Regions from separate parts of the Homo sapiens genome. Here all the other regions are linked to region 4. Evidence: promoter capture Hi-C in 16 types of primary human blood cells and fetal thymus (Javierre and others, 2016). All regions are on one chromosome and are shown on one strand. Each heading gives the region's core, a stretch centred on a gene start or on the middle of the fragment in contact. The rest is flanking DNA. Distances are from core to core; before and after follow the strand shown.

What was found. The method cuts DNA at HindIII sites, captures the fragments that hold promoters and counts their contacts. A CHiCAGO score of 5 or more calls a contact.
Region 1: a contact is called between a fragment that was not itself captured here and the fragment with the promoter of UTP25 in region 4, in 8 of 17 cell types (naive B cells, total B cells, total CD8 T cells and 5 more). The highest score is 12.7, in naive B cells.
Region 2: a fragment that was not itself captured here is called in contact with the fragment with the promoter of UTP25 in region 4 in 1 of 17 cell types (fetal thymus); the score reaches 6.1 in fetal thymus.
Region 3: a contact is called between a fragment that was not itself captured here and the fragment with the promoter of UTP25 in region 4, in 8 of 17 cell types (total CD4 T cells, naive B cells, fetal thymus and 5 more). The highest score is 7.1, in total CD4 T cells.
Region 5: a contact is called between a fragment that was not itself captured here and the fragment with the promoter of UTP25 in region 4, in 5 of 17 cell types (naive B cells, fetal thymus, total B cells and 2 more). The highest score is 8.7, in naive B cells.
Region 6: a contact is called between a fragment that was not itself captured here and the fragment with the promoter of UTP25 in region 4, in 1 of 17 cell types (total B cells). The highest score is 6.0, in total B cells.

The regions. Positions count from the first base shown.
Region 1 is chr1:210,347,613-210,350,378 of GRCh38, forward strand. HHAT (hedgehog acyltransferase) reads left to right here. Exons shown (of 12, transcript NM_018194.6): 2 at 1,321-1,454. The coding sequence starts at 1,364. Among named protein-coding and RNA genes, the nearest start is that of HHAT, 20 kb to the left of the region's middle. The HindIII fragment of the contact is 279 bases long and covers 1,187-1,465 here.
Region 2 is chr1:210,447,871-210,450,570 of GRCh38, forward strand. The region is part of intron 7 of HHAT (hedgehog acyltransferase); the gene reads left to right. Among named protein-coding and RNA genes, the nearest start is that of HHAT, 120 kb to the left of the region's middle. The HindIII fragment of the contact is 3,806 bases long and covers 1-2,700 here.
Region 3 is chr1:210,368,792-210,371,544 of GRCh38, forward strand. All of the region lies in intron 3 of HHAT (hedgehog acyltransferase), which reads left to right. Among named protein-coding and RNA genes, the nearest start is that of HHAT, 41 kb to the left of the region's middle. The HindIII fragment of the contact is 4,942 bases long and covers 1-2,753 here.
Region 4 is chr1:209,826,452-209,829,266 of GRCh38, forward strand. It overlaps UTP25 (UTP25 small subunit processome component), which reads left to right and starts at 1,521. Exons shown (of 12, transcript NM_014388.7): 1 at 1,521-1,719. The coding sequence starts at 1,613. RefSeq lists an enhancer at 1,561-1,610. The HindIII fragment of the contact is 3,327 bases long and covers 440-2,815 here.
Region 5 is chr1:210,406,647-210,409,346 of GRCh38, forward strand. All of the region lies in intron 6 of HHAT (hedgehog acyltransferase), which reads left to right. Among named protein-coding and RNA genes, the nearest start is that of HHAT, 79 kb to the left of the region's middle. The HindIII fragment of the contact is 1,593 bases long and covers 515-2,107 here.
Region 6 is chr1:210,388,062-210,390,761 of GRCh38, forward strand. The region is part of intron 4 of HHAT (hedgehog acyltransferase); the gene reads left to right. Among named protein-coding and RNA genes, the nearest start is that of HHAT, 61 kb to the left of the region's middle. The HindIII fragment of the contact is 7,905 bases long and covers 1-2,700 here.

The DNA.
Region 1 (2,766 bases), core at 76-2,575, 520 kb after region 4:
ACCTTCTCTATTACTTAGAGTATAGTCATGGCTGCCATGATGGAGAGATCTAGAATAGGAGAGGCTTAAACAACCTAGAAATGCATTTCTCTTTCCTGTAACAGTCTAGATCTAAGTAGTCTGGGGCACTTTGGGGCTTGGGGGTGGTACCTGGATTTGGGGACTGAGAGGCCTCTGTCTTGTCCATGTGGCTTTCACCTCTTCATCCACGGAGGCTGTTCCAATTCTGTTCAACAGGAAAGGGAGGGAAAGAAAGAGATGGCCACAGCCATGTCCCTTCACTCACACCCTTTTGAATGGAGCTATTCAGGTGTCCACACTTAGCTACAGTGTAGTGTTGGTGTCCAGAGGAAATTTTAATTGATGTGTAAGAAGAGAGACTGAATTCTGAAAAGGGGTAGTGAGGGGCGGTGGGTAACAAGCAGTGTCTGTCACAGATGTCTGTGATTATGTCATTAACTGCCCTTTAAGAAATGTACAGATGAGGCCTGGCACAGTGGCTTGTGCCTATAAACCCAGCTACTCAGGAGGCTGAGGTGGGAGGATCACTTGAGGCCAGGAAATCAAGATCAGCCTGGGAAACATAGACCCTGTCTCCAAAAATACATAAATAAAGTGCATAGATGCATGGCAGACAGCTGATTTTAAGTTTTTATTTTATTATTGCTTTTAGAGAGGGGATCTGGCTATGTTGCCCAGGCTGGTCTCGAACTCCTGGCCTCAAGTGATCCTCCCATCTTGGCCTCCCAAAGTGTTAGGATTACAGGCATGAGCCACCATGCCTGGCCTATAGTATGATACTTGAAAGGGACAACAAGGATGGTGAACCTGTTGATTTAGAGGTTTGTATACTGTTTGTGCTTTTCAGACTTTTTGAAGCCATTTATTATTCACAGAGCACCTGGTAGTCCCTTCTTGCTACATCCCAGGCACTGTGCTAGGGGCTGGTGAGTCAGAGATCATGGTCCCTGCTATCTGAGGGTCCACTCCACAGAAGAGACAGGCATATTATGCAATGGGTAGAGAACTGTCTGATGTATACTCTGATGGGAGACTGTGGGAACTCCTAGGAAAAGACCTGACCCCTTTGACAGGCAGGATGCACATGTGTGGTGTATGTGTGCGTGTGTGTGTGTGTGTGTGTGTGTGTTGGATGCAGGATGGAGTAAGTTCACAGGGAGGAGGAAGCTTGATTGGGGTTATGTCTGTATCACCTTGAATAGTGATGGGTCTCCGGGAGTGTGAACTAACTGAATTGATGTTTAGATGCTGTTCTCTAGTGTCATGTTCATGGCTTAAAGTTTTGTCTCTGTTTCTCAGAAACTCTCAGCGTAGGCATCGGGAACCTTCGTGCCAAGGAGCCATGCTGCCCCGATGGGAACTGGCACTTTACCTACTTGCCTCACTAGGCTTCCACTTCTATTCCTTCTATGAAGTTTACAAAGTCTCCAGAGGTAAGGCCCCAAGCTTTTCAGACCTCCTATCAAACAAGGAAACTCCTGTCAAAAAAAGGAGCAGAGGTGGAAGATTCAAGAAGATGATCCAATAGTGTCAAGATGATGTGGGCCTTGATTTGCTTCCCCATGTCTTGGATAGTTTGAATCAGTGACCTGAGTCCATTGAGTTTTCTACCCTAAACCTAGGTCTTTTAGGTGATGCTGTGGCTTGTCTTCTATAATTGGTGGGTTTGATTCAAAAGCTATTGAAGGCCGTGGAGGGGATTTGCGTTCAGAATTCAAAGTAAACTCTTAAATTTCTCTTTCATCATTACTCCTCTGAGACATATTAGATCTGGGTTCGTTTTGTCTTCTTCTGTCATTTTTAGTGTTGCCTTTGTCTGAGTGTTGGAGATAAATCATCATCAGGTCACATTCCAGCCCAAAGGAAGGGGAATGGGGGCCCTCCTTTATTTTAGCGGCAGTTTGGCAAGGAGCACTAGTCACTCCTGCTCACACCCAACTGGCCAGCACTGAGTCCCACGGGCACAGCTGGGAGGCTGGGAAATAGTCTTTAGGTTGGTGGCTATGTGCTACCTAAAACTTTTTTTTTTTTTTTTTGAGACCTAGTTTCGCTCTTGTCGCCCAGGCTAGAGCAATGGTACCATCTCGGCTCACTGCAACCTCTGCCTTCTGGATTCAAGCAATTGTCCTACCTCAGCCTCCTGAGTAGCTGAGATTTCAGGTGCCCACCACCACGCCTGGCTAATTTTTGTATTTTTAGTAGAGACGTGGTTTCACCATGTTGGCCAGGCTGATCTCAAACTCCTGACCTCAGGTGATCCTCCTGCCTCAGCCTCCCAAAGTGCTGGGATTACAGGCGTGAGCCACTGCACCCTGTAGCTGGGACTACAGGAGTGCACCACCATGCCTGGCTTTAAAACTACTTTTAAAAAATAAAGTATATTGAAAATGGGAGGTGTCTATTCTTACACCAATACCATAATGTCTTGATTACCGTAGCTTTACATTAAGTCTTGAAGTTGGATAGAAGTCTTCTAACTGTTATTTGTGTTGTCTATTCTGGGTCTTTTGCCTGTCTGTATAAACTTTAGAGTCAATTTGTTGATATCTACAAAATAACTTTAGCCATAAAATAAAGATGTTTATAGCAGCTTTATTCATAATTGCTAAAAATTGGAAGCAATCAAGATGTCCTTAAGCAGCAAATGGACTAATAAACTGTGGTACATTCGGACAATGGAATTTGCCAGGATTTTCATTGTGGTTGCATTGAATCTATAGATTAAGTTGGGAAGAACTGACATCT
Region 2 (2,700 bases), core at 137-2,636, 620 kb after region 4:
GATCTGTCTCAGGGTGCTGACAGATGAGGCTCCTGACCCACAAAGCGGAGGACCCAGACCCTGGCTGAGGTGACTGTCAGTGTACAGCCACCTTGAAGGGGATGTGGCTGGATGACCAGCTGCCTCGATCAGGGACTCCCACTCGGTAGCATAACTTTCCATCTGCAATGTGGTGATAGTTTAATTTGACAGTTTATTTGGTTAGAGGTTCTTTTTTTTTTTTTTTTGAGATGAAGTCTCGTTCTGTCACTCAGCCTGTAATGCGGTAGCTCGATCTCAGTACTCACTGCAACCTCTGCCTTCCTGGTTCAAGTGATTCTCCTGGCTCAGCTGCCTGAGTAGCTGGGACTGCAGGCGCCTGCCACCATGCCTGGCTAATTTTTGTATTTTTAGTAGAGACGGGGTTTCACTATGTTGGCCAGGCTGGTCTTGAACTCCTGACCTCAGGTGATCTGCACACCTCAGTTTCCCAAAGTGTTGGGATTACAGACGTGAGCCACTGCACCCAGCAATTAAGAGATTCTTGAATGTAATTGGTATTTTGTGTGTGCATATGAGGGTTTATCAGTCTTAGCGTAATAGTTTAGGGTAGACATACTAGAAGGGGCCAGGAGGTGGCAGTAAAAGATAGCTAGTCATTTAAGCAATTCAAATTAGACCAAATTAGCCTAATATTCAGCCTCTCCAGGGCAATTTACGAAGTATTGAGATTGGAGGAGGCAGGATGGGTGTTGCTTCTAGACCAGAGAGAGAGAGTCTACCAAAGTAGCCATTCTCATCCCAGCTTTCATGATTTCCCTGAATCTTACTTTAAACTGTTTTTCATTAAATTTTCCTGTGAAATTAAAAAAATTCTCAACTTACTCTAGTTTTCAGATTTTATGTAGAACATGTTTTTATATATAGGCTGTAGGTTGGATTGTCAGTGGATTTCAGCAGTGAGGGTCTCCCAGCCCCTTAATTTCTAGATAAGGTGGACCTGACTCTCTATTCCCTAGATGGAGCGGGGCTCAGTGCTGTCCTGAGACATTTATTCCTGAACCGCTTCTGTCCCTCACCTCATGCATACATGGAATTGGTTCTGTTTGGGGATCATATCACTGTCCCCACTGAACATCACCCTGGCTCTCATGTGGCATTTGGCTATTTTTCTTAATTTGTACACACACACCATGCATGACACACACAACCACCAACAAAAATCATTTAGATGCAGCGTGTGTTAGAGGACTTTAATAAAGGTTTAGGAGACAATTCCACAAGCAGCTTAAAATTGGTGGTCGGACCTCCCGGGTCCCTCTGCCATGTCTGACACTCAGACTCTGGCCTCTGGCCATGCTGTTCTGTCTTCTCTATCTAGCTCCTTTTTCTGCCTTTTCCCCCCTTAGGAACAAAGCTCATCCTCTACTTTTTTTTTTTTTCTAAACAGACCAATCTTTCAAAAACACAAAATAAATCATATAATTTTCTTATTTGATTTCCCAGGTCTTCCTCTATAAAGTCGTGCTTCGTGGCTGACGAGTGTGACCCTTTCTGATCATGCCTTTCCCGTCGCTGAAGTTGCATCACCATTCCCGTCTACACTTTTTCCTCCCCAGCTGCGCTGGGATGGTTCATTTCTTCATGCTTTGTCTATGCCATTGCTTCAGGTTTTCTTTACCTAGTTAATTCCTCCAAAACATCTCACTTCTGAGCTGCTTCCCCTGAGTCCTCAGGTTTAGAGGGAGCCTCCCTCTGCTCCTTCATGGCTGTAATGAATTACTTTTCATTGGGAGAGAGAAGCTGAGTGTTCCAGTCCTAAACTGTTACTAATTTTGTGACACAGGGCATATTAAGGGAGGCTAGACGGGCTAGATGATTGTGAGTTATGTAAGTGCTGACCTTCCTCAAATGTAACTGTGATCATTGAAAAAGTGATGGTCATTTAATTCACATCAGTTCATCAAAGTTTCATTAGGTCTCCATAAAGAAATTTCTACTCGCTAATTCGCTCTCTAAATGTTGGGTGCCAGGTGCTGTGTCGGGCCACAGGGACAGAGAGGAAGTGGAGATTTCCAGAGGGAGGATGCATCCACAGTTCTGGAATTCGGGGGAAATATCAAAGTTAGCGATACGTATTTGGGATTCAACAGTGAGAATATGGGCTTGGCGTGGTGGCTCACCCCTGTTATCCTGCACTTTGGGAGGCCGAGGTGGTTGGATCACAAGGTCAGGAGTTCAAAGCCAGCCTGGCCAACATGGTGAACCCCATCTCTACTAAAACTACAAAAATTAGCGGGGCATGATGGTGGACGCCTGTAATTCCAGCTACTTGGGAGGCTGAGGGAGGAGAATTGCTTCAACCTGGGAGGCAGAGGTTGCAGTGAGCCAAGATTGCGCCACTGCACTCCAGCCTGGGCGACAGAGCAAGACTGCGTCTCAGGTGGGGGGGGTGGGAAACAGTGAGGATATGGCCATTAAAGCTATTGGGAAGGGTGCCAACTGGGGAAAATGTATGGAAGATCTGCATAGATCACTGGAGCCTTGGATACATCCTGCTTTTCAAACATTTCTTCTGTGAAAGGGAAGATGTTCTGAGTGCAACTTTCCTATTCTGAAGGATTAAAAAATTATTTTGTATCTTATTTTTAAAAAAATTTTTTTTGAGATGGAGTCTTGCTCTGTTGCCCAGGCTGTAGTGCAGTGGCATGAGCTACCGCA
Region 3 (2,753 bases), core at 60-2,559, 540 kb after region 4:
TCTTGGTCGGGCACAGTGGCTCACGCCTGTAATCCCAGCACTTTGGGAGGCCGAGGTGGGCGGATCACCTGAGGTCAGGAGTCCACGACCAGTCTGGCCAACATGGTGAAACTCCGTCTCTACTAAAAATACAAAAATTAGCTGGATGTGGTGGCGGGTGCCTATAATCCCAACTACTTGGGAGGCTGAGGCAGGAGAATCGCTTGAACCCGGGAGGCGGAGGTTGCAGTGAGCCAAGCCTGCGCCATTGCACTCCAGCCTGGGCAACAAGAGTGAAACTCTGTCTCAAAAAAAAGAAAGAAAAAAAAAAAGAATTGCTGATTCTCCCTCTGTAGCAAGGAGGTAACGTTCTACAGAGAGACATTTACATGTAGAGGGGGACTGCTGTTGAAAGGAGCTCTCAAAATCCTAATGCATTATGAAGAGTGTTACAAGTAATCAATTCTGTTCTTTCCTGAGGACACATTTTCCCATGACAGGTTTCTGAAATTGGGGCAGACCTCTAAATAAGCTGTTCTTTCAGAAGTAAAATCAGAGAGGACTTTCCATTGCCTGTGAGGAGGCTTAGGAAGAAGAGACAGAGGCAGACGGGAGCTTGAATACGAATGACTATGAACATAGATAAAGAGGTACTTCTATAAAGACACAGTTCTTAGCTACTCATGCTTTGCCCATGAAGATTTTTAAGATTTGGCTTATTTATAAATGCCTCTGCATTTTAATACTTCAGGAAAACAACATTCCATTTTGACTCATTTAACACATGAGTTAAATGCACACCTGCTGTGTAAGCAGCTTCCAGGCCACGTGCCAGGGATGCTGTGACATTCCAGGCTCAGTCTCTGTCCTAAGTGGGCTCTGAAGTTTGGGGGAAGGTGATGATGTGACAGTGAGCTGGTGGTGCAACAGCCACTGGGGCTTGTAGAGACAGAGGGTGCAGAGAACCCCAGCGGCAGGGACTGAAGGGAGGTGATGGCTGGGAGACGGGAAAGGTAGGTGAAGGGTATAGCATGCCTGACGACCTGGATTTGAGTGAAATAAATTTGGCTTGGCTAGAAGGTTGAGTTGTGAGGAGGGCAAATGACTCAAGACAGGGAGGGGATAGATCGTAAAGGCCATGAAGTGCCATATGCGGAGTCTGGACTTTATCCAGAAGGCAGTGGTCAGTCATTGAAGGGTTTCAGGTGCCATTTGTTCTGTGGACTCTTTCTGGAGCCCTCTGACTGATTTTCCTGCCTTGCCCTGTCTCTCTCTTCTTTCTCTTCTCTCTCTGCATACACATATACACACACACACTCTTGATCTGTTAGTTTTGCAGAGCTAAACCCTTGATTCTACCTTCACCTTATTTTCTCCTAGCTTCTTCAATGACTTTTTTTTTTTTTTTTTTTTTTTTTTCCTGAATGCAGAGTCTCACTGTGTCACCCAGGCTGGAGTGCAGTGCATGATCTTGGCTCACTGCAACCTCTGCCTCCTGGGTTCAAGCGATTCTCCTGCCTCAGCCTCCCAAGTACCTGGGATTACAGGTGCCCATCACCATGCCTGGCTAATTTTTGTATTTTTAGTAGAGATGGAGTTTCACTATGTTGGCCAGGCTGGTCTTGAACTCCTGACCTCATGATCCACCCATCTTGGCCTCTCAAATTGCTGGGATTACAGGTGTGAGCCACTGCATCTGGCCTTTAAGGACCTTTTTAATGAAACAAATAATATTTCCCATGAACTACTAGATAGAAGAGAGAGAGAACAGAGCAGGGTACCTGGTGGCTAAAAATTAATAAGCAAATTTGATGTTTATCCATTCACATTGCAGATGCTATTTTTTTTTTTTTTTTTTTTTGGAGACGGAGTCTCACTCTGTCACCCAGGCTGGAGTGCAGTGACATGATCTTGGCTCACTGCAACCTCCGCCTCCCGGGTTCAAGCGATTCTCTTGCCTCAGCCTCCCGAGTAGCTGGGACTACAGGCATGTGCCACCATGCCCAGCTAAGTTTTTGTATTTGTAGTAGAGACGGGGTTTCACCGCATTAGTTAGGATGGTCTTGATCTCCTGACCTCGTGATCCACCAGCCTTGGCCTCCCAAAGTGCTGGGATTACAGGCATGAACCACCACACCTGGCTGCAGATCCTATTTTTACGTTAGGCAGAGAGCTACAATTCCTATTCCTGTTCTCACCAGGAAATCACTAACATCTTACATTTTTCCTACCTGTCCGCAAATTTACATGTCAGGAAGAAAATCTAGCATGGATGAGACTAGACAAAAGGTCATGTACTGATGGGTAAAGAGCCGGCATTCTTTGTGTTCACAAGAAGGAAGCAAACCTGACCTTCCATCACCAATCATGGGTTTCTTTTTTTTCTTATTTATTTTTTTGAGACAGAGTCTCACTCTATTGCCTGTGTTAGAGTGCAGTGGCACAACCATGGTTCACTGTAACCTCTGCCTCCCAAGTTCAAGCGATTCTCGTGCCTCAGCCTCCCAAGCAGGGCCTACAGGCATGTGCCATCATACTTGGCTAACTTTTTGTATTTTTAGTAGAGACAGGTTTTCAACATGCTGGCTAGGCTGGCCTCAAACTCCTGTCCTCAAGTGATCCACCTGCCTTGGCCTCCCAAAGTGCTGGGATTACAGGTGTGAGCCACCCTGCCTGGCCTAATCCATGGGTTTCTTGCCCCTGACATTTTGGAGACTCTTCAACCCACATTCTTTGGAGGGGCTGGCATGGAACACAGGAATCTGTCTCTGCTA
Region 4 (2,815 bases), core at 271-2,770:
AATGGTTTTATTACAACTTCTATGGTGTGACACAGTATCAGGGAAAACCCAAATTTCCCACAGTAGCACTCCAATAGCAGAGCTATTATTTTGCTTCTCATTTCTCTCATTTTGGACGCTCCTGTTTTACCGTAAATATTCAAGTGAATTCTGCGGCTTATGATTTAAGCACTCTGTTTCTATAGAACATGGTAGCATAAGTTACTATTAGGAAAAGGATCTCACCATCTTTATCCTGTGGTCTCAAGCAGCCCTGCACACTTGCAAATCCCTAGAATACTGAGTCTACTTTTATATTTTTGCTTTTTCCTGTTTATTTAGGTGTTATTTAAATACATTAAAATTCACCCATTTTAACTGTACAGTTTAACTTTTCTTATGTATACAAGGTGTAACTACTAGCATGATCAAAATGTAAGATGGTTCCTTTACCTTCAAAAGCTTTTCCATCCCCTTTTGTCCGAGTTCAGTTATGAGACACTGGATTGGGTTTCACAGCCTTTTCTAGCATTGACTGGGGTGATTTCAGTAAAGTCACTTTACCTCTCTAGATGTGTTTCTGCTGTTGTTAAATGGGGAATGCTGGAACAGATTTGTTTGCGGGGACTCTTCCAATACTTTCAGAAAATGCGAGAATAGGGTGAGGGTGGGAATCTCAGACTTGTGGGCCCCATGATTGATATAACACACACAGGCGGCAGACCCTAATGGGTAAAAGCATGTGGTTGCATCAGTTAAGGTTTTTCTCTCTTCTCTTGCTAGCGTGTTATCTTTTCTTTTCTTTTCTTCTTTTTTTTTTTTTTCGAGATGGAGTCTAGCTTTTGTCGCCCAGGCTGGAGTAGGCTGGAGTGCAGTGGAGTGATCTCGGCTCATTGCAACCTCCACCTCCCGGGTTCCAGCGATTCTCCTGCCTCACCTCCTGAGTAGCTGGGATTACAGGCGCCCGCTACCACGCCCGGCTGATTTTTGTACTTTTAGTAGAGACGGGGTTTCACCATGTTTGGCCATGCTGGTCTCGAACTCCTGACCTCAGGTGATCCGCCCATCTCGGCCTCCCAAAGTGTTGAGATTACAGGCGTGAGCCACCGCGCCCGGCCGCTAGCGTGTTATCTTTTCTAAGCATCAGTTTCCTTATCTGCAACACCAGGCTTATTAACAAGACCTATCTGTACACTGTTGTGGTGATGAAGTGAGATGTTCAGGCACCCTTAAATGTTGGTTGATATTTTTATTGCAGTATACTGTAAAGTCACTGCATTCGACTATCTCCGCTACTACACATTTACGCAGACTGATTTCCATAACCAAAACACAAGCACAAAGCTCATGCCCCCGACTCACGCAACCCGGGAAGCCCAGCTGCCCACGTTCTAGGGCTCTGAGAACACTAGTGAACGAACTCCCGTGCTTTCAAAGAGCTGCGGTAGGGGGCAGAACCGGGAACCGGATGTTCTAAGCCTGTCGTACGAGCGCGACGTAAAGCGGATCTGCTTTATGGCACCTTGCTTTCGCCGTAAAGCGCAGTCAGCGAGCCCACGTGCTTGTGTTGACTGGACAACTTCCTGGTGGAAAACCGCGACTCTTGCAAGTGGGCAAACTTGACGTTTTCGCTATGGGCAAACGCGGGAGCCGGAGCCAGAGCCAGCTACTCAACACCCTAACTAAAAAGCAGAAGAAACATCTTCGAGATTTCGGCGAGGAGCATCCCTTCTATGACAGGTCTGAAGGGGCGTGGCAGGGCTCCCCAGTCGCCAGAGATGTATCCTCGAGTTTGGTCCTCTGGTCTCCCAGATAGTGCTGCTCCGGCCTTTTCCCACTATTCCCTGGCTCCCGCTGTGCTCGGCCGGGGAGATTCTGGCGCCATCCCGCCGGGAGATGGAGTGCTTCACGGGCCTTTTTGTTGAGCCTGTAATTTCCTGCTAAGAGGCACGCCCGTTGTGTGGGGGAGGATTTTTTTTTTTTTTTTAAGACGGTGTTTCGCTCTGTCGCCCAGGCTGGAGTGCAATGGCGCGATCTTGGCTCACTGCAACCTCTGTCTCCTCCCGGGTTCAAGCGATGCTCCTGCCTCAGCCTCCCGTGTAGCTGGGATTACAGGCGCCCGCCACCAAGCCCGGCTGATTTTTTGTATTTTTAGTAGAGATGGGGTTTCACCATGTTGGCCAGGCTGGTCTTGAACTCCTGACCTCAGGTGATCCACCCACCTCGGCCTCCCAAAGTGCTGGGATTACAGGCGTGAGCCACCGCGCCCAGCTATGGGGGCGGATTTTTGTGTGGTCAGAGATCTAGGAATTTTTTGTAGACACACATATATATATGTATATATATAATTTTTTTTTTTTAAGACAGAGTCTCGCTTTGTCGCCCAGGCTGGAGTGCAGTGGCGCGATCTCAGCTCACTGCAACCTCCGTCTCCCGGGCTTAAGCGATTCTCCTGCCTCAGCTTCCCGTGTAGCTGGGATTACAGGCGCCCGCCATCACACCCGATCAATTTTTTGTATTTTTAGTTGAGACGGGGTTTCACCATGTTAGCTAGGGTGGTCTCGAACTACTGACCTCGGGTGATCTGCCCGCCTTGGCCTCCCAAAGTGCTGGAATTACAGGCGTGAACCACCGCGCTTGGCCTGTTTTTATAATTATTTTTAACTTACATAAAATGATTGTACATATTTGTGGGATACAGTGTGATATTTTGATAACAATACATGTACCCAATGTGTAATGATCAAATCCGGGTAATTAGCATATTCATCATCTCAAACATCAATTCTTTGCGTTGGGAACATTGAAAATCCGCTCTTCTAGCCATTTGAAAATA
Region 5 (2,700 bases), core at 61-2,560, 580 kb after region 4:
TCCCAAAGTGCTAGGATTACAGGCTTGAGCCTGGCCTCCCTTTTCAAATTGTGCCTTTTAGGGTCTAGTAAGAATATTAGAGGCCTCTAGCAGGGTCCTGTGTCACACAGAGGCACGCTTTAAGATTATCTTCCACCTAAATCCTTAGCCAAGGGTTCTCATTCTCTTGAGTCTCATTCTGGGGAAGTGAAGGGGCAGGTTGCTTCCTGTAGGGGCCAGGTATAGACACTCTGGGTTTTATCCATGTCTTTTCCTTCCCTCTCTCTCTCTTCTTTTTTAACCCCTTCTAAAACAATAGCAATTGCTGACAGCAGGGAACTTGAAAGGGCAAATTAAAACCTCTATGTTTGGGGGAGTATTCATAGAATAGTCATTCTAGAAAAGGATAAATGTTCAGTAAGATATAGGGCAAATTTAAAAAGCCAGGAGGTTTCTGCACTTGCTGAAGGTGGCTGTGGGGAACTTCCCTTCTGTGGGGAAGGGGGCTTTAAAGGGGCAGGGGGTTAAACCAAAAAGCTTATCTTGCAGTGAAAGGGTTCTTTCAGAGAAGCCAAAAAGGAAAAGGCTGGGAGGTGGAGAAAGAAAGCTAGTTGGAAGAACTAGTAAGTAAGATTTGCTCTGAATGAATGCTTGAATGAATGCATGCATGAAATGCCTTCAGCTATAAGGATTGGAAATATTGAAATGCATGGTTCTTAGACTGGCAGGTCAATGCATAAAAATAACGTAGAGCAGGAGAATGACGCTGCACCACCAGGGGGCAGCAGTGCCCCATTGTGGAAACCAACCCCAGCGGGAAATCTTCACCCAGTATCTGCAAACTCCAAAAGATCAAATGACAATGTTAGTTTTAGGCATACACCTGGAGAATGTGTCTTCCACCCAATTTACATACACAAAATGAGGGAGGTATAGAAGCGTTGTCTTCTGCAATGTAAAGCATGTGAAATTTGCATAATTAGTCACGAACAGGTAAAAATTTGCCTCTGTGCCTTAACTTGAAGGCTATTTCTGGTGGCATTTAGAGTTTTAGGAACATGGGCCTGATTTGTTTTTCTCTCACGTTTCTGTGGAACTCGGATACCAAGTCAGCGGTGAGACAGGGATCCTGGGGGACTTAGGGAAGGGAAGGACATGGTGTTTACTTGCTTAGCCTGAAGCCTGGGGCCACTACGTCTTGAAGAGGTTGACTGGTGTGGTGTGGGCACTGGGGAGAAGAGCAGCCTTAGGGTGGTGGGCCAGGGACTCTTCCTTGCTGGGCACTGTGCTCTCCCACCTTAGAGAAGCCAGTGGTCAAATAGGGAATTTGGCATGGAGGTTGAGAGCAAAGGTCCTGGAGCCCACCCTCCAGGGTTTGAATCCCTGCTGTGCTTCGGCTTGAGAGTGCTTGCTGAGTTACTTACCTTACTTATGCCTCAGTCTTCTTATCAGTGAAATGGGAAGAATAATAGTGCCTCCCTCAGGATTGCTGTGAGGATTAAATGATTGTGTATAGGTAATGTGGTTTGACAGGTTAATACTATAAAGTGTTAATTCTTACTCTTATTATTATTTGAGACAGAGTCTGGCTCAGTTGCCCAGGCTGGAGTGCAGTGGCACAACTTTAGCTCATCGCAACCTCCACCTCCTGGTATCAAGTGATTCTTGTGCCTCAGCCTCCCAAGTAGCTGGAATTATAGGCGTGCACCAACGCACCCAGCTGATTTTTGTATTTTTAGTAGAGATGGGGTTTTACCATGTTGGCCAGGCTGGTCTTGAACTCCCGACCTCAGGTGATCCGCCCGCCTCGGCCTCCTAAAGTGCTGGGGTTACAGGTGTGAGCCACCATGCTCGGCCTCTTACTTTTATTATTGTGATGATTGGCCAGAAAGCAAGTGTAATTCTAGGGTAGTTTAGGTCAGAAGTGAGACCCTGGGTATCCAGTCTGGTAGGCAGGCACAGCAGCAGGGGACTCTGGGCCATGGCCATGCTTGGGCTCAGAAGAGGCCAGTGTGCTGGTTCCATCTATTTGAAGAGAGACCCAGGCAGCTGCTGCAGGAAAGGGATGGGGGCAGTCCAAGAGTTGCTGGGACTGGCAAGAGCTGTGCAAGGCAGTCAATGTCCCAGAAGCTTTGTTTAGTACTTGGCATGGGCTCTGGTTCTAGAGAGCACCTGGAATCATGCTAATTGTAATAAAATATACTAGGTGATCATTTAGTCTGAGCCAGGCTTTATACGTTCTAACTTAAAATGTTTGAGATGGTCTCACTCTGACACCCAGGTTGGAGTGCAATGGTGCAATCATAGCTCACTGTAGCTTTGGCCTCCCGAGCTCAAGTGATCCTCCCACCTCAGCCTCCTGAGTAGCTAGGACTATAGGTATGCATCACCACACCTGGCTAATTTTTTAAAAATACTTTTCTAGAGATGAGGTCTTGCTATGTTGCCCAGGCTGGTCTCAAACTCCTGGCCTCAAGTGATTCTCTTGCTTCGGCCTCCCAAAGTGCTGGGATTACAGGCACACACCATTGTGCCTGGCCATTCTAGCTTGTTTAATCCTCACAACCTGTGAGAGAGATACTGTCATGACCACTTTACAGACAGGGAAACAGAGGCAAAGAGAGGCTATTACAATGCAGATAGAGTGAAGGGAATCAAGACATGAGCCTTGTTGCGCTGACTTGGTGTGTGAGAGGAGTTAGAGGGGGATGGAGTGTGGCC
Region 6 (2,700 bases), core at 113-2,612, 560 kb after region 4:
TATTTGAAAACTACTTTTATGTGAGGCAGGATTGAGACCCTCTTCACAGGTCTAGCTACCAAGGGACCTGATATACTGCCAGGAGGATCTTTCTGTCACCTGGGGGCCAGGGTATTGCCCAGAGGCCTCTGATAAATACTTCTTGCTTGCTATAGATTCCTGATGGAGGAAAAAGTCTGTGCTTGGAAATTTACCGAATAAAAGCAAGACACAACCAAAACCTGATTTGGAAGTCAACCTAGGAAAAATGTTTTGATTCTCAGAGGTTCCCGCAGGTGATAAAACTGAAGTAGAAGAGAAACAGAAACCTCTGGAGATTGAGACCAGAAAGTGAGATGCAGAAATAGGATGTCCTGTGGTTAGAGATGCGCACCTAACTTGGGCCAGTTTCTGACTCTTTCCTGAAAATTGGCGTTTCCTGGGCTTGCTCCTCACCCTGGAAGATAGGAAATCCCGACAGCATATTAACTTCTTCTTGAATATGATACTGATTTTTTTTTTGTACTCAAGTGGCTGCTGAACTGGCAAAATCCAAAATATTAGATGTTGTCAGATCTGAGTATATTTTAAAATTTCATTTAACTTTGTGAGCAGACCTAATAATAATTTTTTTTGTTCCTAAGCTAGTAATAAATATATCTACCTCAGCCCTCATTAATGGTTTTCTTTACTCCCACAAATTTCTGTTTAGTTTTTTTTTCCCCAAGAATTCAAAACTTCTGGAAATTTAACATTTTAATTCGTAACAAAGTTTTCCCATCCATGTGTAAATGACTTATTACCATAAGTCTCAGTTTTCCCGTATGTAAAATAAATAGCTTCATACCTGTTTTTCTTTACCTCTGTGAGGGGAAGATGATGTACTTTGAGGATTGTACTAAGTTAATTGCATAGTGGAAGAGTGCTAGACATTGTATTACTCATGTTTGGTCCTTGGTTCGATTAGCTTTCTAACCTGAGCAAAGGTTTTCACTGCATCTTCATTTATGGTCTTAGTGCATTTTTGTTGCTTATAAGAGAATACATAAAACTGAGTAATTTTATAAAGAAAATGAACTTATTTAGTAATTTATGAAGAAAAGGAATTTATACAGTTATGGAGGCTGGGAAGTCATAAAACTGAGTAATTTTATAAAGAAAATGAACTTATTTAGTAATTTATGAAGAAAAGGAATTTATACAGTTATGGAGGCTGGGAAGTCCAAGTCACCACATCTGGTGAGGGCCTTCTTGCTGACATCGCGGCAATCCTGAGGCAGTGCAGGAGATCACGTGGTGAGCATGATAGCTCAGGTCTCTTTTCCTCTTCTTATAAAGCCACCAGTCCCACTCCCGTGATAACTCATTAATTCATGACATGGTTTGGCTCTGTGTCCCTACCCAAATCTCATGTCAAATTGTAATCCCCACGTCTTGCAGGAGGAGCCTGGTGGGAGGTGACTGAATCATGGGGGCAGACTTCCCCCTTATTGTTCTCCTGATAGAGTTCTTATGAGATCTCGTTGTTTGAAAGTCTAGCACTCCCCACTTTGCTCATTCTCTCTTCTGCTCTGCCACGGTAAGATATGTTTGCTTCCCCTTTGCCTTCTGGCATGATTGTAAGTTTCCTGAGGCCTTCCAGTCATGCTTCCTGTTAAGTCTGTGGAAGTGTGAGTTAATTAAACCTCTTCTTCATAACTTACCTAGTCTCAGGTAGTTCTTTATAGCAGTGTGTAAACAGACTAATACAACTGATGAATGAATTAATCCATTAATGAGGGCAGAGCTCTCATGATCCAATTGCCTCTTAAAGGCTGTACCTCACAATATTGCCACATTGGGGATTAAATTTCAGCACCAGTTGTGGAGGGGACAAACATTCAAACCACAGCGGTTGTCCTCTGTAAAATAGGATCAATAAGATAGTATTAGTTTTTTTTCTCCCTTTAAAATATGATGAGCTTCATTGGTTAGACATTTCATCCTTAAAAGTAAAGATGAAACATGGAAAAGTGGGACAAAGAGAAAGCATAAAAGAAATGGTTGAAGTAAGTTTAAATATGTCAGTCATTGCAATCAACATAAGTGGATTCTCAAAAAAGATGAAGATTGTCAGACTAGATGAAAAAAAGAAAGAGAAATAGAGGAAAACAAAAACCAAAACAGAGCTCAGAGAGGCTCTTCTTAGCTAGATATCCTTAAAACAGAAGGACACATAATTTGAAAGTAAAAGGTATGAAAAGATATTCCAGGCAAATATTAAACCCCCTCTCCCTCTGACAAACTACTGGTGCAGTTTTATTAATAGCAAAGAGCATTACTAGTGACAAAGAGGGCTGCTGTTTAATAATAAAGAATTCGTTTCTTATTAGGAAGATATTAAAACTCTAAGTTTATTTGCTTCAAAATATATAAAGCAAAAAGTGATCATAAACATAAAGATAGGTCTATTATTGTAGGGAGAGATTTTTTTTCTTTCAGTAGTTTTCGGGGTACAGGTGGTTTTTGGTTACATGGATAAATTCTTCAGTGGTGATTTATGAAATTTTAGTGTACCTGTCACCCAAGCAATGTATACTGTAGCCAATATGTAGTCTTTTATTCCTCACCCCCACAACCTTTCCCTCCAAAGCCCCAAAGTCCATTATACATTCTTATGCCTTTGCGTCTTCATAGCTTACCTCCTACTCATAAGTGAGAACATAGGATATTTGGTTTTCC